2 separate regions of the Homo sapiens genome follow, and region 2 is linked to region 1. The links are contacts of gene promoters, found by promoter capture Hi-C in human tissues and cell types (Jung and others, 2019). All regions are on one chromosome and are shown on one strand. Each heading gives the region's core, a stretch centred on a gene start or on the middle of the fragment in contact. The rest is flanking DNA. Distances are from core to core; before and after follow the strand shown. Region 1 holds the start of APPL1 (adaptor protein, phosphotyrosine interacting with PH domain and leucine zipper 1). Region 2 has its middle 27 kb from the start of ARHGEF3.

The links. Contacts are between HindIII fragments. The study calls those that stand out against the background at their distance.
Region 2: a contact is called between a fragment that was not itself captured here and the fragment with the promoter of APPL1 in region 1, in 1 of the 25 tissues and cell types used here (aorta).

What each region holds. Positions count from the first base shown.
Region 1 is chr3:57,226,300-57,228,999 of GRCh38, reverse strand. It overlaps APPL1 (adaptor protein, phosphotyrosine interacting with PH domain and leucine zipper 1), which reads right to left and starts at 1,271. Exons shown (of 22, transcript NM_012096.3): 1 at 1,063-1,271. The coding sequence starts at 1,116. It also overlaps a transcript of HESX1 not described here. RefSeq lists a silencer at 814-1,473. The HindIII fragment of the contact is 9,927 bases long and covers 1-2,700 here.
Region 2 is chr3:56,827,138-56,830,024 of GRCh38, reverse strand. It overlaps a transcript of ARHGEF3 not described here. Among named protein-coding and RNA genes, the nearest start is that of ARHGEF3, 27 kb to the right of the region's middle. The HindIII fragment of the contact is 7,225 bases long and covers 1-2,887 here.

The DNA of each region.
Region 1 (2,700 bases), core at 22-2,521:
AACATTGGCACAAAATCCATGGCAGAAGTGCCATCCAGGAAAAGGAGATCTAGACCTCTTCTGCTTTTCTTCTTTGGGGGCCATGTTCAACTGTAAAGACACACGAAATGGTGCAACTGCATTTCTAAATCAGCAACAATTCAGAAATGTTTCATTCTAAATAGTGTCCAACCAGCAACACCGTCTTAAACCGTTTAAATTATCGTGTAAAACGGCTTAGAGATGAAGTTTTCCCTATGCAAGTTACAGCCCCTGCCAACATTTTAAAAAATATAGCTGCTTTCATTCTGCAGTACTGAAAACATATTAAATGGTTACATTTTCCAAAACTGTCTTAAGCTAGAGCAACCACATCAGCATCATTCCGACGCACAGAACACAGGGCTTTTATTTTGATGAGTTTATTAAGGCCAAGTCTGCAGGGAGCAGCGCAGCAGTCGCGGAGCGGCGAAGGCACCGTCCATCCCTCGCCGTGCACAGCTCGAGTGACAGCGACCACAGTCACGGCCGCGACACGGGCACATTCGGCGGGGAGAGCGGTCTTGGGCTCCGGGACCCGTCACGGGCTTTGCCATTAGGGCTCCACACACAACCTTACAGCCTCTCCCAAAGAAAAACGATCCATTTCCTTCCTTAGCTTGCTGAGCCTCGGAAATCATTAAATAAGACTATCGGGGTTTCTCTCCCTTCTGCAATTTTTCTGAAGAGGTTCTCAGGGAGAAAATTCCAGGATCGAGATTTGGCACCTCACATCACCGCGATAAAAACGGCGCCTTTCGTCAAATAAAAAGGACCCGCGCGCGTACGTGACCGCCCGGCCCACGAGCACCAGCGGCTCGGTCTCCGCCTGCGGCCCTCGGCCCAGCCGAGCAGGCCCACGCGGGCCTTGGGCGGCGGGCCCAGCCTCCACAACTCCGGGCGCGGCCTGCGACGGGCGGTGACCTAGGGCGGCGGCGGCCCCCACCTGGGCCGGGGCGGGCACCTGCGGGAGCCGCGGAGGCGCCAGACCTGGGGTCGGCCAGCTGGGCTCTCCCTCGTCGCCCACCAGCTCCCGCGCCTCACCTGCGGGCTGTCCTCCAGCGTCTCCTCGATGGGCAGCTTGTCGATCCCCGGCATCGTGGCGGAGGGAGGGCGGTGGCAGGAGACGCAGCTGCCGCCCACAGCTCCCCGCGCCGGCCCGCCCGCCGCAGCTGACCCCGGCCCGCCCTCTCCGGCAAGGGCTGCAGCCGTCCCCGCCCGCACAGCCTTCTCCAGGCGCCGAGCGGCCGTGCGGGAAATCCCGCCCCCTCGGCCTCCCTGCCCCGCCTCCCGGCGCGTCCATTGGCTCCCGGGGACGCCCATCCGCGCTGCGGCGGTGGTCGGGAGGTTCCCGTGCGGCGCTAGGCTCTCCCGCGAGCGCGGGCGTCGGAAGCGGCGGAGGTGGCAGTGTCTGCCCTGGGATGGCCTTCCCTGCACGCGCGCGTTTGTATCTAAATCGCAGGGGACCGTCTCTTCCTCAGCTTGCCGGCGCGAGGAGCCAGAGCCTCGAGTTAGGGCCACACGGGGGAATTTGGGGCGGGTTGACTTTTCCCGCAACATATTTTGTCAGAGACCTTGGAGAAAGTCCTACTGCTGGCGCCTTTTAGTTTCCTCAGATGATAACATTCCCAACTCCGCTCGAAGCGTCCAGTCTTAATCCCCTCCAGCAGAATGGTGCTGACTAACTCAGATGTCTGAGATCCGCAGCTGTGTCAATAATAGGGCTTTCTGGCAAACTTGTGAACGTAGGCTCGAAATTGTTTTTCTGGACGCTTGAATATCAGTATATTCAGTTGAAAACATGTGATTTTGTTGCCAGTTTATCAGTTCCTACCTGGCCTCCCGAGGTCAGTCCTTCAGGACTGACGCTGCAACTCCAACTCCCATGTTTCTTTTAAATCACAAAGGAAAATATCTTTTAAAAATCAGGATACACTGATTAATTATGTTAGTAACTAATTGGCATTTGTTGAATCAAAAAGTTTTGGAAGCGTTAAATAGTTTTAGCCTCTAATTTTACAATAAAGTGAAGCTCAAAGTTGGGAATTTGACCGGATGAGGGCTACAAGCCTATCCTTTCCTCCTCCCTCTTCATCTTTCCCAACCTGTCACCCTGGCTCGTTTATGTCTCTGTATAGTTGTAGGCTTTCATCATTATACAGAGAAAATAACAAAGTAAGTAGTGTCTTCTAAACATCTAGCCATTAATTCCACCAATCCATTCCATTTTCATTCAAGAAATACCAGAGATGCTGAGTAAAGATTAATTAGCTGCCTGGTTCCACAGATACATGGGAACAAATCCAGAATAGTAGTAGCTCAAATCCAAATATAGTAACAAATAGAAGTTATATATTTTAAACGAAAATAGTAGATTTTCCCATGATCTCTTGAAAGAAAAATAAAATTATATTTTTAAAGTTTTGTTGAGTAGACTTGCATTGTAGTTTTACGGAATTATTTTTAGTGTTACAATCTTTAAAAGTTTTCCCCTTAGATTGTTTATCAGCCAGTCTCTCTCTCCCGAAGAGTTCTTTAGTTTTTGAGGAAGTTGATTTGGAGGCAGTTCTTACAATGAGTTAAGGGTTCCCAGTTGTGTTACAGTTTCTTTTTCCTTGATATCTCATTTCTACTCTGCCAACAAGAACACCATGCACCCCAGCTCTAAAGAAGGAAGACTTT
Region 2 (2,887 bases), core at 241-2,740, 400 kb after region 1:
TGGGGTGATCGTAGTATTTTCCTTATAGGACATTGTGAAGTGCCATAACACGATCATCGGATAGTAAATCCTAAACTGTCTGTTGCTATTATTTGGGGACTGGTATAAGGTACCATGCTTGGTAGAGAGTTGGTGAACTTTGCTAAAGTCCTGACATTCTGTGGATATCCTCCTTAGAGACTGGAAACAAATCCCTGCTTATGTAACCCATTGACTGATGAGGCTGATGGTGAGGGCTCTCTCCCTGACCCCTGAAATACCACTGTTTCAGAGAGACAAGACAGCCTGCTGTTTGTCAGAACATTTTAGCTTCAGGATTTTAAATCAGCATTCCAAAGATTTAAAGGCAAAGAAATATGTGTTGGAATTTCCACAGAAAAGAGTGTCAAGGTTCTGTGCTTGCTTCAGATAGCTCTGTCTGTGGGGGTTGGCAGATGTTCTTCGGGAGGCATTATTACCTCTTAAAGGGAGGCTTGGGAAGGGCATTTTATTTCTCCACTGTAGGCAGATTCTCGTTTCAGCTGTAGGGCTGCAGGGATAGCTAGAGCTTCCTGAGTATTCCAACTATGGGCTTTGAACAACCTGGGCCAAATGTGGGGGCATTGCTGTCTCTGTCATGCCTTCTACAGGTAGGCTGCTGGAGCCAGGGGACTAGCTTCCAGGAGGTGAGAAAAGCCCTCCAATTGTACACTCACCGGGAGCTCAGATAGCTTGCATGAGAGCCCACGTTCACTGCCAAAGACATGTCTTCCGCAGGCCCTGGATGGAGGGCAATTGTACAATATAAAAGTCTGTCCCAGGCTGGGTGTGGTGGCTCATGCCTGTAATCCCAGCACTTTGGGAGGCCGAGGTGGGAAGATCACTTGAGGTCAGGAGTTTGAGACCAGCCTGGCCAACATGATGGAACCCCGTCTTTACTAAAAATACAAAACTTAGCCAGGCATGGTGGCATGCACCTGTAATCCCAGCTACTCAGGAGGCTAAGCAGGAGAATCGCTTGAACCCGGGAGACAGAGATCGCAGTGAGCCAAGATTGCGCCACTGCCCTCCAGCCTAAGCAACAGAGTGAGACTCCGTCTCAAAAAAATAATAATAATAAAAATGAATACATTAATAAATAAATGTCCCAGAGAAACAGTGGTGTGTGTACCACTCCACCCACAACCATACAAGGGATCTCTTTAACTTTTCTATGTAACAAAAAGGAAGACCAGTAGCAACACGTGGTTAAAGATGTGCCATAACCCAGGATGGATCTTCTCCTTCCACTGAGAAACAGGCTCCCACAGATGGCAGGTTTTACTGCTGGACCAGAGTCAGTTCTTACGCCTGAGGGCTGGGACTTTTAGAACTATGGCAACTCTGGGTATCTTTTCTTACTACTTAGCTGGACAAATTGTTTCCTAGCTTTTAAATGAGGGAGAGACAGGTTGATATAGTATAATGAACACCCAACTTGGTTTTTTTGGTTTAGTTTAGTTTTGTTTTTTTGAGATGGAGTCTCACTCTGTCACCCAGGGTAGAGTCCAGTGGCGCAGTCTTGGCCCGCTGCAAACTCTGCCTCCCAGGTTCAAACGATTCACCTGTCTCAGCCTCCTGAGTAGCTGGGATTACAGGCTCCTGCCACTGCGCCTGGCTAATTTTTGTATTTTTAGTAGAGACAGGGTTTCACCATGTTGGCCAGGCTGGTCTCGAATTCCTGACCTCATGATCCACCCACCTTGGCCTCCCAAAGTACTGGGATTACAGGCATGAGCCACCGTGCCCGGCCATGAACACCCAACTTTTAAAGCCAGTCATAGATGGAGTAAAATCTAAATTTTACCATTTAGTAGCTGCCACGATAAGCAAGTCACTTAACCCTTCTGAGTCTCAGTTTCCTCATCTGTAAAACAGGAATAGCAATACTTACATTCATGGTTGTAAATATAACAATGTATGTAAAATGAAAAATCTTACTGTTATAGCAATGTTGAATTTTTTTTTTCCTGGTGTACTTCACGTATATCTTGGCTTGTGAGTAGTACCTGCAAGATCTTGAGGTTAAGGTATGCCTTTTTTTTTTTTTTTTTTTTTTTTTGAGACAGAATCTCATGTTGTCACCCAGGCTGGAGTGCAGTGGCATGATCATGGCTCAGTGCAGCCTTGACCTCCCCAGGCTCAGGTGATATTCCTATCTCAGCCTCAGCCTCCAAAGTTGCTGGGACTACGGGAGTGTGCGACCATGCCTGGCTTTTTTTTTTCTTTTCTGTTTTTTTTTTTTTTTTTTTTTGTAGAGACAGGGTTTTGCCACGTTGCCCAGGCTGGTCTCTGAACTCTTAGGCTCAAGTAATTTGCTCACCTTGGCCTCCCAAAGTGCTAGGATTATGGGTGTGAGTCACCATACCTGGCCAGGGTACGCTCTTAATTTTCAAATGTCTGCTTTACTAGCAACAACAGACATTTACTGCGCACTTGGTAAGTGAGGCTGTCACTGAGTGCATTCATGTGCATTTAATCCTCGCAACAGCCATGCAAGGTGAAGATTATAATCCCCCATTACACATGAGGTTTAAGCAGGTGAGGCAGCTTGCCCAGGTCACAAGCAAGAAAGTGGCAGAGCTGAGATTTAAACCTGGACCACTCAGTTCATGCCCTTAACTCATAAACACCCTGCTATCTCTTAAAATGTTCATGCCCAATAATTGACATTGCTCCTTGTGATGTTGTAACATGAATGAGTCATACAGAGACAGTGGTTGTCCTTTGCTTCTTGATTTCTAGGAAGTCTTTATATATTACAGAGATTGGTGCTGAAATGGATACGAGTTGTAACTATATTTTCCCAGTTTGTCATTTGTCTTTGCTTATATTTTCATTGTTGTTCTTGTTTGCCATGTAAAAGTGT